2 separate regions of the Homo sapiens genome follow, and region 1 is linked to region 2. Evidence: promoter capture Hi-C in 16 types of primary human blood cells and fetal thymus (Javierre and others, 2016). All regions are on one chromosome and are shown on one strand. The core of a region is centred on a gene start or on the middle of the fragment in contact, and the rest is flanking DNA. Distances in the headings are between cores, read along the strand shown.

Evidence for each region. The method cuts DNA at HindIII sites, captures the fragments that hold promoters and counts their contacts. A CHiCAGO score of 5 or more calls a contact.
Region 1: a contact is called between the fragment with the promoter of PSMD1 here and the fragment with the promoter of ITM2C in region 2, in 2 of 17 cell types (M1 macrophages and fetal thymus). The highest score is 6.1, in M1 macrophages.

Annotation. Positions count from the first base shown.
Region 1 is chr2:231,055,573-231,062,515 of GRCh38, reverse strand. It overlaps PSMD1 (proteasome 26S subunit, non-ATPase 1), which reads right to left and starts at 5,649. Exons shown (of 25, transcript NM_002807.4): 1 at 5,475-5,649; 2 at 1,206-1,249; 3 at 195-268; 4 at 1-10. The coding sequence starts at 5,490. LOC112268432 (a long non-coding RNA gene) reads left to right here and starts at 4,770. Exons shown (of 2, transcript XR_002959456.2): 1 at 4,770-5,179. RefSeq lists a silencer at 5,559-5,748. The HindIII fragment of the contact is 9,212 bases long and covers 3,528-6,943 here.
Region 2 is chr2:230,860,724-230,867,065 of GRCh38, reverse strand. ITM2C (integral membrane protein 2C) reads right to left here and starts at 2,124. Exons shown (of 6, transcript NM_030926.6): 1 at 1,921-2,124. The coding sequence starts at 2,040. RefSeq lists silencers at 925-1,024, 1,815-1,904, 2,005-2,374 and enhancers at 808-1,464, 1,465-2,123, 2,782-3,440, 4,566-5,176. The HindIII fragment of the contact is 7,451 bases long and covers 451-6,342 here.

The sequences.
Region 1 (6,943 bases), core at 4,400-6,899, 190 kb before region 2:
TAAAACCTCTCTGAAAGAAATTAGGAAGTACAGGTCTAGTTCAAACTGTGGTTTTCCCTAAAAATCCCAAATCTAAATATTCAAGCCACAATTCAGTTAACAGCAAATTTCTAAATGAATCAATAAGCCACAAGACCCACATTCACAATTAAATTTGATCCATCTTATTCTGATTTATAAAAATAATTTCTTACATTTTGTCTACGGACTCGGAAATTTCTGCCCAGAAGTCATTAACAACTGCATTCAATTTGTGTAGTGCAAATTCCTGTAAAAGATAACCAAAATCCTATTTTGAGATAGACTTATCATTACACTTCCTTAAAAAATTCTTTTCAGCAAATCAATGATCAAATCCTCAGTAATATTTACTCAAACTTTTACTCTATGACAAATATAAAAATTTACCAACTTACACTTTTTCTTGAGTTTACACATTTCTTTTCTGTTTTCAATCATCAACATTTTTCTTCTTTGAATATAAACAATTAACTCCAGGTTGCTGGTTTAGATGTAAAGGAATCAAGTATCTAGAGCCACCAGAAGGACATTCCAAATTTTCATCAAATAAAAAACTTTAAATATGTGAAACAGAAGCAACAACTTTTTGTGTTTTCTGTTGATAATGAAACTGGGGCGGGGGAAGCGGAAGGTGTGGTGGCTCAGACCCGTAATCCCAGTACTTTGGGAGGTCAAGGCGGGGGGATCACTTGAGCCCAGGAGCAGGAGTTTGAGATCAACCTGGACAACACAGTGAGACCCCATCACAACAAAAAATTTAAAAATTAGCTGAGTGTGGTGGTGCATGCCTACAGTCCTAGCTACTTGGGAGGCTGAGGTGGGAGGATCATTTGAGTGTAGGAGGTCAAGGCTGCAGTGAACCATGACCACACACTGCACTCTAGCCTGGGTGATAAAGCGAGACTCTGTCTCAAAAAAGAAAAAAGATTAAAAAAAGAAAAAAAAGAAAGAAATTAGGGGGCTATTCAAGTGTCGTAACGAGGTTTATTTGTCTTAGCTTTGTTAAACTCAAGGGAAACCAACTGCTGTGGCCAAAATACTGTCCTCTCTGGCTAGGTTACAGTAACTGGGTACAAGCCAGCTAGGACAGCAACTTTAAATGATGGAAGATTACAGATATCACTAAATTCAAAAGGCTTCACAGTATTCACACTAAGCCTAGTTACTTATTCTTCAATTCATACCTTAAGCTGTGGTTCATCTTCATCCAGAAGAGAAATAATTCCAGCTATGAGAAAAAAGATGTAACATGATTATGAAACACATTCTCACTAAAGTGGAAATTAACACCTGGTCAAAAATACATGATGGCTGAAAAACAATTTTTTTGAGGCGTAACTTCTCCAGGGGAATGATTATTTTTCTTTGAAAGTGTAAAGGTTTATATCTCAAGTTTAAGACTTAACTATATTATCAAACCCTCATGGCACCACATATATTACATCATTTGCCTAATTCAATGGTTTTCAGTGTGTTCCCTGGACTAACAGCATTGCCTGGGAACCTGTTAGAAATACACATTCTCGGCCCCATTCCAGACCTACTGAATCACAAATTATGAGGATGGGGCCCAGTACTGTGATTCTTTTGCTCTCTATAGTTTGAGAACCATTGGCCTAATTTACTGATTAAAATGGGAAACTTTCCTATACAATTTTAGAATAAAATTATTCATACAAAATAAATCAACAGTTATAAGATTATTTACAAAAATGGGAGCATTTAGTCATCAAATCAACAAGGTAAAATACTTCAATTATTTCAAGGTGTGTATATTATGGCACCTCTTTCCTATCACAAGTAACCTGGGTTTTACCAAATGATGAACAATCATACTCATTCTGAATTCAATTACCCAAGCACAGTGTTCTCCATATGGCTTCTCTTAGCCTCAAGGTATTACCACTAACATAGGAGAGTAAAAGGAATAATTGTCCTCTCCAAAAGAACACACCTTGAAATATAGTCAAAGGTCAAAGGGATTATTGGAAAAATGATATGGGAAATTATTGTACTAAGACCACAAAGGAAACCACTCTCAAATGCTTTCCATGTGGGTTTTAAAATCATTCCAGAACACCGAGTTGAAACTGTGGTTTGATTAAAAAGTGTCAAGGCAACTTAGTTAGATGTAGCCATTTCTAATTGACAAGTATAGGTTTGCCAAATAGCTTAAGCAATCTTTAGGAAGCCACACAGGAAAAGATACAAAATTTACCAAGCAAAACTAAAGTAGCATAAAAGCAGATATAAAGAACCTCTTGGTACTCTAGGTTGGTATGACAAGTCCAGAACAGAGATTCTGAATGGACAGCACAGGGAACAGATAAATTTCAAAATTCAATCAGTGAAAAAGAAAAAATTGCAAACTAGTGATGTGGAGTAAGATGACAGGCCAGAATGCTTTAAATGTAGAACAGATCTTAAATAACAGAACACTTAATACTAAAACTGCTACCTATCCTCAGTCAATGTATTTGAACGGCTTTTACCAAAAAGGGAGATGGATTTTTATATTCTCTGGTTTGGTTTCACTTATGACTAACTGGTTACATGGTTGTCCTGGCTTGGAAACTCAGCCTCTGGCCATGGACCAGAACTAAATCAAATACTCTACACTCCATACATTAGTATTTCCCATCTTAAAAACAAAACAGAACTCTCTTCTGGAGAGGGGAGAGAATGGGAAAGGCCTAAGGATGCTAAAAGCCTCTTATGCCGTTATAGGAACTGAGCAGATATTGGTCTAAAACTGTTGAATCAATTGACAGAAATATTTGGATATTTATTTACAAATACGGAGGTATGTTCCAGAAGACACAGCTTAAAAGTTGGGAATACCTGCCTCTGGGGATCAGGAAAGGGAAAGTGAGGTGGGGGACTATTGTTTTAAAGCTTTTTAGCACAACTTTCCTTTATGTGTCTGTATTATGTTTAAAAAAGAAAACACCAACCCACTCAATTTCACATCTCCCGCCTGGAAGCACCTCTCTCTCTCTCTCCATTCCCCTGCATAGTCAAACCTCTTGGAAAAAACTAATAGAACATGTTGACCTCTTATTCACCACTGTATGGTGATGCCTAGCAACTGCCTGGTCAATAAATGAATGAACAAACTGACTAATCCACACCAGAACCATGAGACTAGCCTGTTTAGCACCTGGGACAAATTCTAAGCCAACATGAGCCATAGGACAGAAAACAAAGTGACAAAAGATTTGGAACAGAAGTTGACAAGTAATCCAATAAACTTAAATGGCAGTAATAAATATACACTATATGATCATCACAGAATCTCAGGATAGGACCTCAAAAATTATTAGTTTTGCCACCTTAAAGAGGCTTAAAGTCTATTATATTGTCACCAAGTGCTTTTTCCGCCTCTACTTTAAAAACTCAAGGGACTGATTAATTGCTTTGACTGGCTGACTGAGCTCTTCAGTCAAGACATACTTTTGAATTTCTGCCATGCTCTCAGCAGTATTCTAGAATTGTGAAAACAAGCTTCCTGCTCAAAATTCTACCAGAGAGAGAGAGAGAGACAGTGATCAGGCAAGTAAACAAACAAGGCAATTACAGAGCTGTGGTGGAGGGAGAGTAAGCGTGTTTTAATAGAATGATCAGGGAAGGATAACATTTGAGTTGAGACAAAAGATTGAGAAGCTAAGGGAAAATCTGAGGAAGAGAAGACTAGAAAGGAACAGAATGTGCCAGGGCCCCGAGATAGGAGAGAAACTGACATATCCAAGGAACAAAAAGTCCAGTGTGATTAGGATGTATTGAGTGAAGACAGTACTACAAGACAAGGCGGGAATCAGATCATGTGGGTCCTTGGTTAAGAGTCTGGATTTTACTGTATGCCAGGGGTGTCCAACCTTTTGGCTCCCCTGGGCCACAATGGAAGAAGTATCTTGGGGCATACATAAAATACACTAACACTAATGATAGCTAATGAGCTTAAAAAAAAAAAAAAAGGTTTGTATATAATTTTCACGATGTCCGACCACCACAGTAAGAAAAAAAGTCCTCGAATTCAAAGGGTTGGACACGGCTGCTCTAAACACAATGTAAGCACTGGTGGATTGTAAGCAAAGAAGTATTATGTGATTAAAGTTTTAAAAAGCATAGTCCACAAGAAAAACGGGCTGTACGGAGGTAATGGTCGAAAACAAAGCCTTAAGGCTGATATAGTAACCCAGACAAGAGATGAAGGTGGTTTGGGCCGAGTTAGAAGAAACATTGGTAATGGATGGATTTGAAATAGAATGAGGCCTATAGGTGGCAAGAAACTGAGTGTTTATTTGATCTTTACAAAGCTCTGACTGGAAAAACTTCCTGATACTGAACTAAAATTCATCTCGCGATCACTTGTATCTCTTGGGGACAAAAAGTCTTATTTCAGGTACAAGTGACAGCTCTTCAAATGTTTGAAAGTAACTACGTCTCCCAGTATCTCCAACGATCTCCTTAACCAATCCTCATAAAAATAAAGTTTTGATCGCCTTACCATTCAGATTACTGTCTTCTGCTCACCAGTTTGTTTACAATAAAATGCTTTCTTTGTGGGTCAAACACAGAGTAAGAAAATGAGAAAAGGGTATGTAAATAGGCAACGGAAAAAAGCACCAAGGCTCTGGACAGCTATATGCAAGTCAATCTGTAACGGGGAGCTTAAGTCTCCAATTGAAACTTGATCTCTGTAACTTACTCCATTGCAAATGTCACTACGTGAATCTACCTATGCAATGGTTTGCGCGTATGAAACCTGCTCCGCAGATCCATCCATTCTTTCTTGAATGTACAGTCAACAGACTGAGCACATAACCTCGAAAGGGTATAAGTAGGCTCTCAGTATAAAGGTATCTCCAGGGCGTCTTTAGGGTCTTCGCCGAACCCAAAAGTTCTCTGGGTGTTTTGAATGAACACCCTTGGATCGGACCCAGAAATGACCCACCTCAAACCTAATTTCGGGTTTCATTCTAAGGCGAATGGAGCTCGGCCACGTCCAGAAACACTTCTGTAGCAGTTAGGCTGCCCGATCAGGGGGGTTTGCCTTACTGTTCAATGGCACAGGGGCCCATCCCACCCCGGCCCCCTGCGGGCAAGAACTGGGGCTGGACGACCTCACACGGCCAAGAATGGGAGGCACAGAAAAAAGGTAAGCCCTTCTGGGGTCAGGGGAAGGCCCAGGAAGCCCCTCGGGTCCTGGCGCTGGGGTGTGATTGGGGAGGGATGCCGAGGCGGTCGACCCGGCTCGATTCCCTCAAGCCAGAGAAGCACGCAGTGACCTGATCAGACTCCCAGCCCCCCGGCCCGGGGGTGGGCCCTGGGCAGCAAGAAGCTGCCCAGGCCGGCGTTCCGCCGGGAGGCGCCCAGTCACCGGCCCTGACTCAGCTAAAAGCCGGCGCGGCGGCGGCTCCTCCCTCCAGGCGCTGGCTACGGGCCGCACTCACCGGCCGAGGTGATCATGGCTGCGCCCCTCACTCGCCCGTCGGCTCGCTCGCCGTTCCAGCTGCGCAGTGTATCTGTCAGCTCAGGGGCCGCTCAGTTCACCGCGCCTCCTTGCTCCCCGGGTGCGCTGCTCAGTCAGTCGCCTCCTCAGGCCGCCGGCTCGCTTCTCGCCAGGACCCCGCCCGCCCAGGGGCTGCCCGCCACCCCGCCTGCCGCCCGGCGCGAATTCTCCCCTGGCCTGCGTCTTCTGCGCGGCGGTATACTCCCCAGCCCTCGCGGAAGGGTACACAGAGAACACCATTGTTTTCTCTAAACCTCCTCGAGGTCAGGAGTCCCGCGCAACGGAACACTGGTCTGCACCTGAGGTCAGGCATTAGAATGGCCAGCCCTGCAAAGAGAGGACCCCCACCATCACCCGCCATTGCTGAGAGAAAGGGTGTTGAGGGGAGGTGCGAGCATTGCGCGCAGTGCCACCTACTGGTGGGAGGTCTCGCTGCAACACATCTCCCACCAGATAATGCTTAGGGAATTGGGGCTGCCGCAAACAGCGTTTTTTTTTGTTTTTTGTTTTTTTTCCCAGAAAAGTGGCTTTCAATTGTTTTCTAAAGCAAAACCTATCATAAAAAAAAGAAAATCCCCATAGAAGTGCTTTATTATCATAATGAATCCACAAGTAATCATTGGCTTATTATAAAGTTGAACAATGAAGGTTTTTACTTACTTTTGGAAAAATGTCCAGTGTTGTCAATATATTAAAATGTGCAGTAGTTATATGGCGAAAGCCTTTCCAAGGGAGAAAAAATGTCTTCCATTCTTTCCTTCTATCTGCCCAGGTCCTCTTTCCCCCGACGGCAGTGGGTTCTTCGTTTCTAATACATCTTCAGAAATTTGAAATGGCAGTTGCAATGGCCATTTGCAGTCTTATGCTAGCTTCAAGAAGTCAATTTATTTCAAGAGTCAGTACTGAGAAAGTCTTGACAAGGAATAGGGCAAACGGTAGCATTTTTTTCAGCCACCGGCCTTGCACTATCAAGCTAAACTCTTCAATCGCACAGCGATGGCGAGTTCATTTCTACGGCCTTCTACGTAACCTAGGGGCACAATCAATGTCTTGTGGTTGCCAGTGAATTAAATGTGCTTGATAACACATTTTGTTGTATCTGTGACTTTTTTTGTTTAAATTAGAATTCTTAAACTGTGGTTGTTTAAAATATATTAAATATAATTATTGAACATTTTTGAAGAGCCTGTGGCTCAGATTGAAAGGCAGGGCTCGAGAAGATGTGCATGCAAAGTAAACAGATTACTTGGGGTGTCATTCTACAGAGGTACTTCTTTTTTTTTTTTTTTGAGATGGAGTGTCCCTCTGCCACCCAGGCTGTAGGGCAATGGCGCGATCTCGGCTCACTGCAACCTCCGCCTCCTGGGTTCAAGCGATTCTCCTGCTCAGTCTCCCAAGTAGCTGGGACTA
Region 2 (6,342 bases), core at 875-3,374:
ACGCAGGAAGATGTTGATATTTCCATTTCATGCTGGGTGAGGGGGAAGAAAGGACGCTCAATTTCAGAGCCTGATGAGAAGCCAGAAGCTAGGATGTCAGTTATGCCCCGAGATGCAGGTCTCTGTCAGACTGCCCAAACCCATGCCATCAGCAGGCTGCGGCTGGAGAATGTGCCGCTCCTGCAAAATCTGGGGGACCTTCTGATGGAGTTGGAATAACACCCTCCCACTGTCTGACCTGGTCCTCCCTCCTCAAATATCTCCAGGAAGAGGTGGCTAGGAAAAGAGATGGGCAAGCGTGCTGCCTCCTGCCCCCATCCCTGCCCCTCCCCAGGCTGAGTGGAGGGCAGCTTCCCTTCCAAAGAAAAGGAGTCTTGAAGAACCCCTTGCAAACTTTTAAAGCTGCAGAACCATCTTCTTCAAATATGGAGCGCCCCCTCCACCTAAGCTTCAGATGAAAAGGGGGGAGCTGCTCTCATGGGGTGCACAGCAACCCCCAACCTCGCCTAGGTGGTTGTTGAACTCTTGTGGCTCTGAGCCACTGGTTGCTGCAGTGACCACCATAAAAGGGCAGGGGGTTCTCAGTCTCCTGGCATTCCTCACTCAGGGTCTCTGCCCAGGCTGACACCCAACTCTGACGGCCCTCTCCGGCGCCCCCTCCTCCAGGGTCCAGGTCATCCTCTGCAGGCCCCTTAATGCCCCAGGCAAGACTGAACCTGAGCCACAAAACCTGGGGAGGGGGCTAGGCGTTCAGGAAGACTCTTCAGAAGCCTGCATCTGGAAGTGGGGAAGCAGTGGACAAAGACTTTCTCAGTCCTGCCTCAATGCGGGGTGGGGAGGCGGGGAGGACATGGGCTTGGTAAGCCACAAGACCGCTGGGGGCGGCGCCCACGTAGACACCTTTGCCAGGCACAATAAAACCTGGCTGGGCCAGCTCTCCCTCCCTCCCTGTCCCTGCCCGCCACGCGTTCTGCCCCCTGCGGGCCCTTCCCGGACACAAGGCACGCAGCTCAGACAGTTTTCCACGGCGGAAATGCCTTCTCTCCCCCCCGGCCAGAGGGAAAGTGGAGGAAGCCGGGGTAGGGGAGGGGGATGACAGGGGTGGGGGAACGCGCACAGAGCCCGGGGACCCAGGATGCAAGGGCACTGGGGCAGTTGGGAGCCCTCCCCGTGGGGTCGGGGGACAGCCCAGCGAGAGGCTGGGAATGGAGAAAAGAGAGGGGAGCAGGGAGGCCCAGACGGCAGGGCGTGGGGTGGGAAGGGGGCACCCGGCCTCGGACCCCCGACGTCCAGAGGCCGCAGCGCCGTCGGTTCTGGCTGATTTCCATTTCATCACTTTCTGGTCTGTCAATTCCGGTGCAGGCCAGCAGCACATCCTCTGTCCCTCGCAGCCCCCAATTTCGGAGGAAATCAACGGCCCCACCCTCTTCGTTGGTACCAGACCCCCCCACCCCCAATTCCCCAGCCAATCAGGTCCCACCGCCCTACTTTGGAAAAACTACGTCTAACCCTCCTCCCATCCCCCACCTGGGGACTCGACTCGCGGCTTTCCCAGTTGATTGGAACCAGACGCGTACCCCCCCACCAACATTCCTCGAACTTCTTCGGACCAGCCCCCTCCCCCTATAAGGCGGCGAGGGGGCCCCCACTTTTGGAAGAGACCTCGAGCACTTCTCCACCTGAAGACCAGAACCAGACGCCTCCCACTCTTCGGACTTCAGCTTTTGGCTGCCGCTTTAGTACGGGACTTAAGCCCCCTCCTCATTCTGGGATAAGCAACCATTCGAGACTTCCCAACCCTGCTCCACCCCGGGCTCTGGGGCCCTGACGCGCCTCGGGCAGTCCCCAGGGCCGACGGGGCGCGCCTGGGTCGTGAGCCTGGGTCCCCCGCCCCACCGCCTGAGCCCCAGACCCTCTCACCCTAGCCGGCGTCAGCAGGATCTCGGTGGCCGAGGCCGGCGCAGGGGCCGACGCCGACGCCTTGTCAGCCTTGTCGCCCTTGATGCCAGCCACGGCGGGCTGGAAGCTAATCTTCACCATGGCTGCGCCGGCCCGCGCGTCCGCCCCGCAGCCTCTGCCGGTGCAGCCTCGGTCTCTGCCTCCGCCGCTCCGAGCTCTGCAGGCACCGGAAGTTTGGATCCCGCTCGCGTCCCTCTCTCTAACCCCACCCCCAGCCCTCCCCGCCCCGTCCCCGCGGGAGGGCCCCGGCGCCCGCCGCGCCTGCGCCCCCTTCCCGCCCGCGGGGCCCGCAGTGACCCCTGCCGGGCGCGCCGCTCCGCACCTGGGGCGGGTCGGAGTTCCTTCTGCCGCTCGCTCGCACAGTCACTCACTCGCTCGCTCACTCACTCACTCACTCACTCGCTCACTCATTCATTCAGCCGTCACGCTCGGATCCGTTCTCCGTAGCATAATCCCTTCGCATTCCCTGTCCAAGGCCAGCATCCCCGCAACGCAAGTCTTTGTTAACCCAGTGTTTGCCAGGCAAATGCAGCTTCCAGACAACTCACCCGTCTCTCCTGCCCCACTTCAGGTCTTCCCCTTTAGAAACGCTGGAGCCTCCGCTCTACCTGTCCCCACGCCCCCCTCCTCCGACCTGTCCTTGGCGCGGGGAGGAGGCTTTGAGACAGGCGCCAAACTGCTGCCTCCGTCTTGCCTTCTGAAGCCATCCACGCCTCCTTCATCCTCCATCTTGCTTCTGCCTTCATTCTTTATTCCTGCAAAACCTTCCTGGGGGGTCCTGGGGTGCACGCTGGAGCCGCCTGGAGTGGAGAAGGGAAGGCCGCCCCTGCTCCCTGGCTCCTTCGTGTTGCTGCGACCTCAGTTATTGGGTGACCTCCTGAACTGCCCTTGTCTCACTCATCCAGGAGGACCCTGGCGAGAGTGGAGGGAAGACCCCCAGGGCGGGTGTCAGAGGCTCGGGTTCCACTCAAGACTCTGCTCCTCCCAAGTATCACGGGTACTGGGGAAGCAGGGGCTTCTGTTGCTGGGATGGCTGCTCTTGGCACTAACGCCCTGAATCTTTCCTCTTTGCTCCTGGTCCAGACTGGGCCAGGGACAGCGCCCAGCAACACACACAGGTTGTGCTGAGTGGTCCGCTTTGGTTCTGCTGTTGGGCTGCCAGTGGAGGGCAGGGGAGTCCGTCCGCTTCTTGAGGACAGTCCGGGGTCCTCCACTGATCTCTCTTCTCACCTTTCAGGTCTTTTGCAGCTGCCTTGGGCCCTTAGCGCCCACGTCCCAGACCCGGACCTCTTGGCTCAGATCTTGGATGAACCTAGCAACCTTGAGGACAGACAGGTGGGGAAAGAAGAAAGTCTAACTGATGCTAAGGCCACCAGCCTGGGGAACTGGGGGGAGGGAATGGGGAGGTGGAAGAAGACAGATGGTTTGGAGGAGACGAGGAGGAATCTGGTTTGGCACAGAGCCAGAGAGGAAGGTGTTATGGACTACCGCTCATCACCTGCTCCAGATCCCATGGGAAACCTGGTGTCTGGAGAAGGCAAGCTCCACGTCTTGCTTAGGCCACACCCCCAACATGCATTCCTTCACTCAGTGTTTTCCAAGCACCCCTGTGTGCCAAGCATTGTGTTAAGCTCTGTGGCAGAAAACAGAGATGCCCAAGACACAACCCAGCCACCAAGGATGTGGTCATGTGAAACCTTCTATGAGTGGCATTCTTTCACGTGCATTCAATTATTTAATTTTCATCACAGCCTCTGTGACCTACACATTAGCCTCATGTTAATAGTGATAGAAGGTAGCATGACTAAACCCAGGGTCGCAGAGCTGGTTTGGCACAAATCTCTGGTCAGCAAGACAGGGCCACCTGGGTGAAGCATCCACATGCCTGAGATTGGCAGGCGAGCACCCCACTTCCCCTGGAAGGCCTTCCCAGACCGGCTGGGATAAGTCCCTTTCCTGTGCACCTTCAGCACTGTGCACATCCCCCTCGGGCCTCTCCTTACGCTTGACCATGGACTCAATGCCGGCCAAGTGCTGGGCGTACAACCTAGTGCAGTGATTCCTAAATTTTTTGGTTTCAGGACCCCAAGAGCTTTTGTTTAGGTGGCTTATGTCTATCAACATTTACCATATTAGAAACTAAAACTCAGAAAGTTTTAAGACACAAGAATACATATATTCCATTGGGCATCAAAGCGATGTCATCACACATGTAGTCTCTGGAAAACCCCACTGCACGCTAATGAGAGAATGAGAGTGAAAAGGGCAAATAATGACTTATATTGTTGCAAAAAATAGTTTTGACCTTGGAGACCCCCCTGAATGGGTCTTGGGGGGCACCATGCTCTGCAGATCACCTGTTCAGATGCTCAAGAATCCATATTCCATGGATTCTAAGAAACACATTTCTTCACATTTTAACATCTTGAGAATCAAGATATCTTTTACAATTATAATTGGCAGTGATTAAGTAATGTCTTTCACAAGTGATAGCATCTTATATTTGATGGAGTACAGTATAGCCAGTCAATAATCCAAGGGGAGCCAGGAGGCTGCGGGAGGTCCATGTCGCATACTGAGTTTTGTGGACTCAGGGAAGGACAGCAGGGTGAATGCGGTCGTGGTGCAGCCCAGGCTCCATGCAAGACAGGAGATTTGGGTGGGAACTGGAAAGACACAGGGTGTGGACAAGTGACAGGGAAATGAGAGTCCGCACTGGGAGTGAGGAGAGTGACTCTGGGCCAGGAGCCCTCAGCTCAGTCCAACAGCCATTCCTGCCAGCACCTGAATCCTCTTTGTTCTGTTCTTGCATCTTACCCAAGTGGCAGAGCTTCTCCTGTCCCCCTTTCTGGTTCCAGGTTCTGCTCAGGGACTGCTAAGTTCTGTTGGTGAAAGTGATACCATCATGCCCCTTGGGACCAGCATGCTACCTCCTCTTGGAGGGGCATGGTGGCAGCCATGCAAAGCGGTCCCCTTGGAGCTGCAGGGTGGGACAGCTGTGGCTTCTTTAACCAGTCATTCTCCAAGCAAGGACCTCGGCCAGCAGCCCCAGCAGCACCTGGGAACTTGTTAGGAAGGCAAACCCTTTCTATGTCTATTCCGAAACTCAGGGTGTGTTCTGTGCCCACCAAGCCCTTAGTGATTCTGATGCACACTCGGGTTTGGGAACTGCTGCTCTGTCACTCTGTCCACACTCTCAACGGCCACATCCTGCCCTCTCCAGACTGCTGCACACCTCTCAGCAGCTCAGCTGCTGAGGATCTGGAAGCCATGGCTTTAGGTGGCTTATGTCTATCAACATAAGAACGCCCTCCTGCCTGCCAGCACATCCGCCCCCATCCACAGCTGCCCTTCTGCCCACTGCTCCTCCTGCCACTCGCCGCGGAAGAGGCGTCTGTCTTTTCTCTCCAGCCACTCTCTAGATGAGGATTCCACCCCTCCCCTCCTATCAGACACCTGAGACATCCATCAGCCCCCGCCTCCTAACCTTTCAGCTCTTCCTGTCAGCTCTGAAACATGCTCGTATTAGCCTTAAAACAAAAACAAACCCCTTCTTTGACCCCACGTCCTCCTCCACTTGATACCCTGTTTATCTTTTCTTCTTCTTAGCCAAACCTCTTGAAAATTCAGTCTCCATTTCCTTATCACTCCCTACACTCATCCTACCTCAATCTGGCTTCTATTCCTCCACCTCCACCTGGCTGAAATCTCCAAGCTGCTTTTCAGTCCTCATCTTCCTTGCGTTGATTTTGAGCCTCTTGGCTGAGGCCTCTCCACTAACTCTTCCCTTCCCTCATCAACTCTGGTGTGATTGGCTCCAGTGGGAAGGGCTGTTGGAATCAATCCTGCAACAGTTCACTTTGAAAATAAAATCTCAGGCTGTGCACGGTGGCTCCTGCCTGTAATCCTAGCACTTTGGGAGGCCAAGGTGGGCGGATTGCTTGAGCCCAGGAGTTCAAGATCAACCTGGGCAACATAGCGAGATCCCCGTCTCTAGTTAAAATAAAATCAGAAATGAGAACTTTTACATGTATTTGCCTGTTTCTCAAAATTTAGAAGTTGAATGTTGTTTGCAAAGATATCTAGTTTATTACAATTTAAAGCACTGGTTATGTAAGACTTATGGTTGTAACAAATCCATAGAGGGTCAGTAGATTAGCTTTCTGGAAATGTAACGGGCTCAGACAAGGGTGTGCCCATTGTCCTCAGAGTTCTTCTCAAGGAGAAGTGTGCTCCATCAATCACATGCTCTGAGTAAGGGAGTGGGTGAGTTTGAGATCCTGTTCTTCTGACAAGAGCAGCAGCTATCTTCAGCTCCACCTCCCCTACCTCCACCTGCCCCCTTCAGAGGCCCCTCTTTTCCACTGAGGAGCTAGCTGAAAG